Linked DNA regions of Homo sapiens: all the other regions are linked to region 1. The links are contacts of gene promoters, found by promoter capture Hi-C in blood cells and fetal thymus (Javierre and others, 2016). All regions are on one chromosome and are shown on one strand. The core of a region is centred on a gene start or on the middle of the fragment in contact, and the rest is flanking DNA. Distances in the headings are between cores, read along the strand shown.

What was found. Contacts are between HindIII fragments. The CHiCAGO score rates a contact against its expected background, and 5 or more counts as called.
Region 2: a contact is called between a fragment that was not itself captured here and the fragment with the promoter of LINC01949 in region 1, in 1 of 17 cell types (M0 macrophages). The highest score is 6.6, in M0 macrophages.
Region 3: a fragment that was not itself captured here is called in contact with the fragment with the promoter of LINC01949 in region 1 in 3 of 17 cell types (M0 macrophages, M2 macrophages and M1 macrophages); the score reaches 9.7 in M0 macrophages.

What each region holds. Positions count from the first base shown.
Region 1 is chr5:87,237,074-87,241,014 of GRCh38, forward strand. LINC01949 (long intergenic non-protein coding RNA 1949) reads right to left here and starts at 2,128. Exons shown (of 3, transcript NR_130914.1): 1 at 1,993-2,128; 2 at 1,742-1,908. All of the region lies in intron 2 of LOC101929380 (a long non-coding RNA gene), which reads left to right. The HindIII fragment of the contact is 4,009 bases long and covers 1,886-3,941 here.
Region 2 is chr5:87,274,944-87,278,355 of GRCh38, forward strand. The region is part of intron 1 of RASA1 (RAS p21 protein activator 1); the gene reads left to right. Among named protein-coding and RNA genes, the nearest start is that of RASA1, 8.8 kb to the left of the region's middle. The HindIII fragment of the contact is 892 bases long and covers 1,006-1,897 here.
Region 3 is chr5:87,180,817-87,184,419 of GRCh38, forward strand. All of the region lies in intron 2 of LOC101929380 (a long non-coding RNA gene), which reads left to right. Among named protein-coding and RNA genes, the nearest start is that of LINC01949, 57 kb to the right of the region's middle. The HindIII fragment of the contact is 721 bases long and covers 1,497-2,217 here.

The DNA of each region.
Region 1 (3,941 bases), core at 878-3,377:
ATTTTCATGATAAATGGTTAAGCATTTTTTCCATATATTTATGGCCATCTGAGTCTCCTCTTCTGTGAACTATGTTTATGTTTTTGTTCTCTTTTGATATTTCTTATCTACCTGAGGAGCTCTTTATAGTCTAGATATGAATTATTTTGTAAGATGTATGCATCACAGATATTTTCTCCCAGTCTGTGTGCTATGGACTGAATGTTTGTGTCCCCAAAAAACTCCTATGTTGAAATCCAATCCTCCCACCCCCATCCTGCCTTCCAAAGTGATAGTATTTGGATCTGAGGCCATTGGAAAGTGATTATATCATGAGGGTGAATCCCTCATAAATAGGATTAGTGCTCTTGTAAAAAGTACTCCAGAGAGCCATCTTGTTTTTCTGCCATGTGAGGACATAGTGAGAAGATGGTGGTCTATAAACTAGAAAGTGGGCTCTCTTTGACTGGGACTGCTCAGCCTCCAGAAACTATGAGAAATAAATGTTGTTTAAGCCACTCAGTCTATGGTATTTTTTTATACAGCCAGAATGGACTAAGACACTGTAACTTATCTCTTAATTGTATTTTGGTGTCTTTTACGGAACACATGTTTTATTTAATGTTATAAAAAAAATGCATTTTGTCGTTTATGCCATTGCATCTAGCTTAAGAAAGCTTTCCTTACTGGAAGTCATAAATTCTCCTATCTTTTTCTAAAAGTCTTAAAGTTTTGCTCTTTGTATTTAAGTTTCTTTCATCTGAAGTATATTCCATGTAAATAGAGTGAGGCAGAGATCTTTCTGACTTTTTCCCATGTGACTAACCAATTATCCCGGCATTATTTGTTATTTTTTTATTTTACTCCTGAATTTTAATGTCACACTTGTCATACACCAAGTTATCAAATATGTGAATCTGTTCTGAGTTTTGTTTTGTTGGTCTATTAATTTTATTTCTGACACAATAATACAGTTGTATAATTACAACATTAGAATATCAATATCTGGTAAAGTAATATCAGTGAAACTGATTTATGAATTGCATGTAAAAATTTTAAGGCCACCATGTCAATGTAATTAGCACTGGCCTACAGATAACCTATTGATTTGACCACTTTGCTCTTGTATGTAGAAACTTTGCTTAACTCTCCTATTCCAGTTCTTCAGCTGTACAATTATTGGATTTTCTATAAAAAAAAATATTCAAATAATCAATATTTGATCTTCCCTAATCCATATAACTGGTTATTTCTTTCTTATTTCATTGGTTAGGAACTCCAGAGCAATGATGATTATTGGTGGAGATAATAAGTATTAATGCTTGTTCCTAATGTTAATGGGAATTTTATAACTCTCATACATTATTTCTAGGATAAATCATATTTGATCATAATGCATTTTTTAAAATGCTTGATTCAATTTGTCAACATCTTATGATACTTGCATGTACTCATAAGGAAGATTAACCTATAATTTTTCTTTCTCTTATTTTTCTAGTTCAGCTAACTAGAATATATTAACTTCATGAGAGAAACTACAGAATTTTCCTCTTTTTCTGTATTTTGTAGCATTTTGTGCTAAAGAGATTTTTCTGTGCTTTGAATGTTTGTTGGTAATCCCTGTGTAAAATTTTCTAGACTTACTGTTATTTATTTTGGGTAGGTTTTTGCTTACTAATTCAATTTTTCCAAAGGCTTTCTCCTCAGACATAGATTTACTCTTGAGTCAATTTTGGTAATTTAAATTTTTAGTGATGCCCACCTGCAAAGGGCCAGGTCTGGCATACAGTTTGAAATTTGCTGCCAGAGTCCCATTTTGCAATCCCGAACTTCTGGTGGAGACTGGGGTGTCCATGGCCCACTACCCAGTGGCGAGTAAACTCTTTGCTCCCAGACTGTTGCAAGAAGCTTAAAGGATGGCCTCCAGATCTGGAACAATTATGTTCTCATATTAATAAAAAGATTAACAATATTTTTAAAAATCTGTCATTGAGAAACTGGCCAAGAACCTACCTTGAAGAATATCTTAATAGGAGATGAGATCACTGTAAGAAATGAACTTCTAAATAAATTTGAATAGGAAATTCAGTATTAAGAACAAACCAACAATTCACTCAAGGAACTCTGTAAATCTCTTGAAGAATATTATAAAATGTGGAATATCTCAAAGAAAACTTTCCTTCCCATGTGCCTCAAATAACAGGTCTCAAACTCCTAGCCTCAATCAGTCCTCCCACCTCAGCCTCCCAAAGTGCTGGGATTACAGGTGTGAGCCACTGTCCCCAGCCATAATTTATTTATATTTTATTTCTTTAGCTTTTTCATCTTCTATCCTGTTTCATATAAAATTCAAACTTTTTTGGATAAATTTTTTAATCAAATGCTTCCGTTTAAGTTAGTTTTAGCATTTATTTTTATAAAATTTTAGCATGTAATTTTAAAATAATTTTTTATATTTTAAGATCATACCTGTCCATGTGACTCCAATTCAGCTGTAAAAGATCTGAGAAATATTTGATCTGTTGTCCAGGAAGAAAAGGAGAGGAGGAACATTCTTCTATCATTTCACTCTTACCTGTATATGAAGAATATACTTACCTCCCCCGAAGGAGGACAATCTGAAGTCCCTTCTAGTTAGTGCATTCAGCTCAAAGCCCAAGACATTCAAGAAATGTGTCATCTTCTCCAATACGTGAATGTTTGAATTCTCCTGAAATAAAATCCCATGAACTGAAGAAATATCCTGTCTTTACCACCACTCCCATATACACCTACATGTGAGGGTGCATGCATGCACATGAACACACACACATCTAATATACAAAATGAATCAAGGACAGAAGTAGCTATAATAGGAATCTGATTAGTAAGGGTAGGAATGGAAGGCAAGCAACAGTAACCAGTGCATATAGATCTTAAACAACAGATCGCCAAACACACTGCAGAATGATAAGAGGGTCTGAAATGTAATACATCAAGTGTTAATGTGCCAGACCTAGAAGTGGCAAATGTCACTTGGACATATTCCACTGGCTAAAACTCAGTTACATAGGCCCAGTAAAATGATAAAAAGCCTATGTAAGTTTTGGTTGTATGCCAAAAAAGAAGAGGACAAAATGGATATTGATGTGCACTAACAGTCTGTGTCATCATGGTGACATGATCCTTCTATCATGAAGTAATCAACCTCTTTAGAGAAAAATCATTATTAGACTTAAAGTTGTTTTCTAATATCAATATTACTGTCAGATCTATTTTGGTCCGGTTCCTGGTGTACAGTTTTTCAACCTATGACAGTAAGTTCTCAACGTTGTTGATAGGGTCTTGGAAACTTCAACTTCAAGTGAGATGCCATGTAACAAAACCAGTTTTACTATAGGCTAATTAATATAAACAAGAATTAGTTCCTATGGCATATTTGTATCACAAAAACATCAACAAATTTCTAAGTGAAGACTTGAAACACTTCTAATGTTGAATATTGATATAAATGTAAGCTATACATACATTTAAGAAAAATCAACAAAAATAAGTAAGCAATTTGTCCAATTTTTGGTGAATCAGTGAGTGACAGCCGTCATCCTGGTGGTAGGTTAAATCAAGAAATAAATGTTTGTAAAGTGAAAATTGTCAGGAGTACCTCCTACCAACACACAGTTCAAAAACAAACAATATTCAATAAGGCAGACTCTCTAAGCACTTTCATACAACATTTCTTATTATTTTGCATTTGTATGATTATCAAATACTTTATATTTTATCTTATAATAATTTGTATTCATTTATTCTTTCATTTTCCAACCCACTTACTCCAGTTCAGGTTACAGGAGGCCAAAGCCCATTCAGCAGTTCAGGATACAAGGTGGGAAGCAACCCTGGCCATGACACCATCCCAACACAGGGCACACTCATACATATACCCACACTCACCTTGACTGAGATCGCTGACACATGCCCACCCA
Region 2 (3,412 bases), core at 202-2,701, 37 kb after region 1:
CGGTGATGTCTGTAGTGACTGAGGTACAGAGCACAGTTGAATGCTAGAATCGGTATGGATCATTGATTAGCCACTCTGGGGAAAACAGGCAAACATTACTGGCAAAGCTAAAAAGGACAGCCATAAATTAGGAAGGGAAAAGGAAAAACGAAGAGTAGACTTTCTGGTTGCTTTACTTCTCTCTCTTTACTGGCCATTGGTGAAATGAACAGAGTCCCTTTAAGAACACTTAAATACCCAGAAAAGTACCTTTTGGGAAGAAGATTTTTTATAGTGATTATTAACTATAACAATGGTTACCACTGACATTTTTTGTTGTTGTTGCTTACTGCCAAACAGGAACAGTTCTAATTGGTTTATTTGTATTGTTTTGGTTATCTATTGCTGCATAATAAAGCACTCCAAAACATAGTGGCTAAAACAATTGTGTATTTGCCCTTGATTCTAAAATTTGTGTATGGCTTTATGGTGACTTCTCCACATGTGATCTGTTGGCTATAATGTCCACTGTGGCTTCTTAACTCATAAATCTAGTGCCTCAACTGGGATGGCTGGAGCAGCTGGTAGATGGCTGGGCATTTCCCTCTCTCTTCCTACCCATGTCGTCTCTCCACTTGAAGAAGGTTGGCCTTCTTTTTTTTTTTCCCCCCTGAGATGGAGTCTTGCCCTGTCGCCCAGGCTGGAGTGCAGTGGTATGGCTCACTGCAACCTCCGCCTTCCGGGTTCAAGCATTTCTCCTGTCTCAGCCTCCCAAGTAGCTGGCATTACAGGTGCGTGCCACCACGTCCAGCTAATTTTTGTATTTTTCATGGAGATGGGGTTTCACCATGTTGGCCAGGCTGGTCTCGAACTCCTGACCTCGTGATCTGCCACCTTGGCCTCCCAAAGTGCTGCGATTACAGGCATGAGCCACTGTGCCCAGCCAGCTTGGCCTTCTTCATAGCATGGCAGCTATGGCAGTTCCGTGAAAGACCTTTCCAAGCCCTAGTGTGCCGGTATTTATCAAGCTTCTGTGTTCCTCATCCTTGCTAATGTTCCAATGGTGAGTGCTGGTCACATAACCCAGTGTGCATTAAATATGGGAGGGGACTATAAAATGGCATGAATACAGCAAGTTGAGCTTTCCTCAGGGCATCAAAGTAACAGTACCATGTGTATTACTTATTTTCATGTAATACGAGATAATAGAATACTAGTAGTGAGGGACAGGCTGGGAGATAGGACAAATACTTATGAGTTCTTCCTTCAGGCCCAGCAAGCTAAGTTGTCTTTTGTTAAATGAGTCAAATTTCTCCACAATAGATGTTGCTTTTTGGCTACCATTACCTTAATTTTAAACCAAAAATACTGAATACGGATGTTGTTTATTGTTTGAATATGCAGGTATTTCTGTGTTACCTTGAAATCACTGGCAGTACATTTCAGTTTTGTGCTGCGTTAAAAATTGTTGTTATTAGATACAACTTATTGATAACTATGTATGTCTTGTCACATCTCTACAGGATTTAGGGTATGATGATTTTAGGTGTTTTAGTGGTTATGTGATTTAGTGAGTAAAATAATGAACAGTATGGGGGACAAAAAGAAATATACAATTCTACAGTCTAGTTGGAAGATGAGGCATTACTGGTAGGGAAATAAGATGATAAAAGTAGTCTACAGATACGTTGTGCAGGTAAATTTTTCAAATTCAGAGGATAGTTGCCAAAGAGTGAAAGAATGAAAGTAAATGAAAGAATGATACTGAAATTTCATACCATAATTCTCTTGAAGGAAATTTCAGTATCATTCATTTAGGATTATTACAGTGAGAAAGTGTGATTAACTTTTGTAACATTTGTGTTTCAAATTGTAGTCAAGTTGTTATGTGTAACATAGAGTTTTAGTTACAGAGGGAAGCTTCTCTGCTTAGATACAGAAGTAGCCTTAGGTAGAGTGACTTGCTTCACTCCACCCTACACCCTAGCTAAGTTCATATAACTAGGTAGTGGTAGAACTGGGACAGAATCCGATTCTCATACTGTTTCACATATATTTAGATTTGAGTAATATTTATAATTCATTTTTTTTTAAATTTTAGAGAGGACTAGAAGCAAAGGCTCAGTATTTGCTAATCATTTGCTAGATGTCAGGTACTTTATATAGATTATCTTATTTAATTCTTACAATGATATAGTGAGAATGGGCATCATCCTCATTGTTGAGGAAACTGAGTGATAGAGCTGGAATTTTAATGTAAATACTATGCTTTTTATTTTGTCTTGCCCCTTTCCATTACGTAGAATGTACACACATATATGCACCCAGATAAAACTTAACGTACTTCAGGGCTGGCAGTAACTGGCATTTTGGACTTAATAGTTCCCCCCTGTCCCCCATAGTCATAGGTTGAAGCCTTAACCACCAATGTAACTGAATTTGGAGATACAGCCTTTAAAAGAGGTAATTAAGGTTAAATGAGGTCATAAGGGTGGCTGGTGAATCCTATAGGACGGGTACCTTTATAAGAAGAGGTACCAGGAGTATGAGTGCATCAAGAAAAGGTCATGTGAGGACATGGTGAGGAGGCCTTCATTTGTCAGCTAAGGAGAGAGGCCTGACCAGAAACCAAGCTTGCCAGCACTTTGATAGTTCAATTTCCAGCATGCAGAACTGTGAAAAAATAATTTCTGTTGTTTAAGCCACCCAGACTCTGGTATTTCGTCATAGCAGCCCAAACTGACTAATACATGGGTAACTCTACATCTTTAAAAATGGATTTGGATTATTTTGGAACAGATTAAATGCATGTCTGCTGCTTGAGAAATAAGGTCCTCATTCTTTTAATTTCTTTCACTGTGGGAGAGAAAATCTTGCCTTACTTTACCTCTTTCTTTGTTAGTCAGTGACCTTTATCTTTTTTGATTGTACCTCTGTTGAAAGATGGAAAGCATATTTAAATGCATGTCTGATTATTATAGTGTGGAAAGATCCTACACATGACCATGGTAGCCATGGAATATCCTATGGATAAGCTGTTACTCCAGCAAATTTTCTGTATTCAATGTGTGTTCATTGTTGTAACATTTTACTTTAAAAATTTCGCTAATACATCTGTCTCAAGCTAAGGGAAAGACTTAGAGATCTCCCTCACCTCTTTTAAGTGTTTTTTGTAGGAATAACTTGCTAAACTGGGTTCATATTAGACACTTGTGTAACGATAGACCGTATCTCACCTATATTCTTTTCTATCTAAATGTTGATTCATTTCTCTAATTTTTAAATCTTTTTATTTTGAGGTAATTGTAGATTCATATGCAGTTTTAAGAAATAAGACAGATGGGCCGGGCGCAGTGGCTCACTCCTGTAATCCCAGCACTTTGGGAGGCCGAGGTGGGTGGATCACAGGGTCAGGAGATCGAGACCATCCTGG
Region 3 (3,603 bases), core at 607-3,106, 57 kb before region 1:
GAAAATGTAAATTTTCACAACAGTATATAAAATTTCAAAACATGGCAACACTAAATTTTGCTTTGAGACACATATATATGTAGTAAACATATAAAAATGTAAATGGGAATGATAAACACAAATTCAGGATTCAGAAGGAAAAGCAAGGGAATGGGATTGGGAGATATAATTAGGGGTCCAATTATGTTTACCATGTTCTGCTTCTTAAGCTAAATTATAATAAGTACATACATTTTCATTTTCATTTTCTCTGTATAGTTCTTATATGTCTGAAATAGCTCAGGAAAAAAGAGATTAAGGGGAGGAGAAACAAACCTTTTGAAATCAGGACAAAACTTAATTCCAACTTCATCTCTGCAACATACTCACTGTGGAAACTTGAACAGATTACTTAGCTTCCCTGAACCTCAGTTTCCTCATCCATAAAATAAGGACAATAGTATACATATATATATATATTTTCTGAGATGGAGTCTCACTCTGTCACCCAGGCTGGAGTGCAGTGGCGTGATCTCGGCTCACTGCAACCTCCGCCTCCAGGGTTCAAGCGATTCTCATGCCTCAGCCTCCCCAGTAGTTGGGATTACAGGTGTCCACCACCACGCCCAACTAATTTTTGTATTTTTAGTAGAGACAGAGTTTCACCATGTTGGCCAGGCTGGTCTCAAACTCCTGACCTCAGGTGATCCACTCACCTCGGCCTCCCAAAGTGCTGGTATTACAGGCGTGAACCACAGTGCCCAGCCAAAATAAGGATAATAAGTATTATACCAACTTCCTGAAACAGTGCCTCAGCATTCAGCAAAATAACTAGCATGTGGTATTCACCTAATATACTTGATATTTTTCCTGAATTATTTCAATAAAGTCAATATTAATGTCTGTACATATGCATTTCCAATGTGTGTGTGTGTGTATTGTGTGTGTGTGTGTATGGTGTGTGTGTGTATGTGTGTATGGTGTGTGTGTATGTGTGTGTGTGCGTGGAATATATGTATATATATATTCCACACAAACTGATATATATATATATCAGTTTCTTGGAAGCGCACAGCTGCGCTCGTGTTCTTATGACTCCAGCATCCTTTTTTTACATGTAACCTTTTAATTTTGCACTTCCTGTTATAATTTTAAACATAGAATGAACAATTTCTAGACAATCAATAGAACAGCTGCTAGGGGGAAAAATAGAAATGAAATGGCTAAATGATTGAAGGCTGACACTTAAAAGAATAGTTTTACAGTGAACAGCTGTGTATCCCAGAAATAAAATATGTGATAAATACATGTTAACAAAGAGCAAAAACTGCTGTCTGATATTGAAAATTCATGGCTACAGAGCTGAAAACTGTTGGAAATAATGACAAGATTCCAGTGTTGTTAATGTTTCAAATGGGTTATAGTTACAAGAAACAGAGAAAATAATAATAAACCCCCTTACAGAGTATAAATTTTGTGGCATAAATGAACAGTATGAAAATATTTTAGATATTTTAAGCTTTTAAAACATGTTTTGAATATTGAACAATAAATGTAGGTCACTGTAAATGGCAGTGCTCTCCTTTGTCTCTAGCAATTTGTCTCTGTTCTTGTGCTCTGCTCTTGGTCTATGAGCAGACATCACACTCTGCATCCATTTTACACACACACACACACACACACAACCATCTTTTTGTCTCTTGTCCTTTAAATGGCATAGTCCTTATATCTTCTCTGTGTTACGGGAAAGCTGTGGAATCAGAAAGCCTGAGTACCCTTCTGTGAGGTCACATTTGTTGCACAGGAGTTTTTGCCTCTCTGAGCTTTGGTTTTCTTATTGTAAAATAGGGATTAAAATGAGCTAACATATAACACAGGGCTCTGAAAAAACCTCTGAAGCATCACCCTAAACCAAATTATTATTAATGTAAGAAAACACAGTGCACTTGGTAGTAAAAGGATTCGTTTCTAGGTAGTTTTTCTCCCAGGAAACGAAACAAACCTTTAGTCTATATTGCTTCCTGTATCTGTACCTACTAGCTACAGGAAAAGCAGACGTATATAAATCTCTCTATTGCATTCCTTAGCTGATGTGTACTTCTCGTACATATGGATTGCATAAGCCTTCATTTATTCATTTAACAAATGCTAATTGAGTACCCTTTGTACCTTTCACATGTCAGACACTGTACTAGTTATTTTGGGCACATTAGGAAAAAAAAATCCTTGCCCTTTTGAAGCTTAGTGTTCCTTCTGGGAATAGAAGGAGGGTGATGGAAGGAAGCAAGAGATCATAAATAATAAATAATGAAAATAACTGAAATGTGCCATGTATTAGAAGATCATAAGTGCTATGGGAAAAAAAGGAGTACATCAGAGTAAAGGGGATGAGGAGGGTTTGGGGGAAGGGATCATCAGCTGGAGTGGAAGGAGACTGGCTGCATCATCTAATGGGAAGGTCTCAATGGGAAAATGACTTTTGAGCAAAGACTTGAAGGGTGAGGGAGTTGCTCACAAGAATATCTGGGGAAGAGCAGTCCCTGAAAGGAAAAAAACAGTCCCAAAGCCCCAGGGTGAAGCTTTCCTGGCATGTTTGAGAATAACAAAAGGGTGCTGATGTTGAGATGAGTAAGTCAGAGATTATCAGGAGAGGAGGTCAGAAAATAATATCCTGCCTAAAATTTTTGACTCTTACCAAAAATTTCCAGGGTAAACCTCTTTGTTCTGTATATTCGAAAAGCAAGAAGCCTTCCATTTTTTTTCCATTGCCTAGAATTGCTTCAATGAATACTTGACCATTTCTCAGGTGTCATACCTCATTGGTAGAATAACACACTTGGTATCCTGCCCTTTCACTATTCACCTTCATCCCTTTCCCTCTTTTATCACTATAATTGGCTTTCAAAAGCAGGAGCACCTCTTAGCCACAAATTTGTGTTAAAAGCTGTGTTTTTATCCTTCCTCTCCATCAAAGTCTCTCTAAATTGTCAGTTCACAAGAAAACCCTCTCTTTCCCTTTGTGTCCTTCATCCAGCTGCCCCAAAGAAAACAACCATTAGCAAGAAAGAAAAGTCAGTGGGTCCCTATTCCTATTGCACTACAAGGGGAGAACACGATGAACCCGAGTGACAGATCATATAATTTACAAATTGAGTCCATCTCCCCATGTTAAAGTTAAAGAAATGGAGACCCAAAGATGTTCACTGCTTTTCTTTCATCACAAGAAATCATGATGTATTGTAACCCCAATTTCCATTCATTCCTACTGCCTTCTGTTATCCCAACAAGAAAGGAAATCTTGCAACACTACTCTCTAAGACAGAAGAGGAACTGTGCTCTCCTACATCAAATTTTCTTTCTCAGTTCAGACTCTGCTTCAGTGGTTTAAATTTATATTTATCAGACAGTGCTATTTAGCACGTTGCCAGGTTTATACCAGAAAGGGTTTAGATCTTTGTGAAGAAATTTAATAAAATATAAACTCTGTCAAGATTTTAAAAAATTCAGAATATCTGATCTTTAGAACAAGATTTTTGGACAGTTATAATTGTTTTCTAACACCTTCTGGAATACATTATTATACTATGTTATAGCACATTTGAGTAATAACTTTTTCGTTCACTT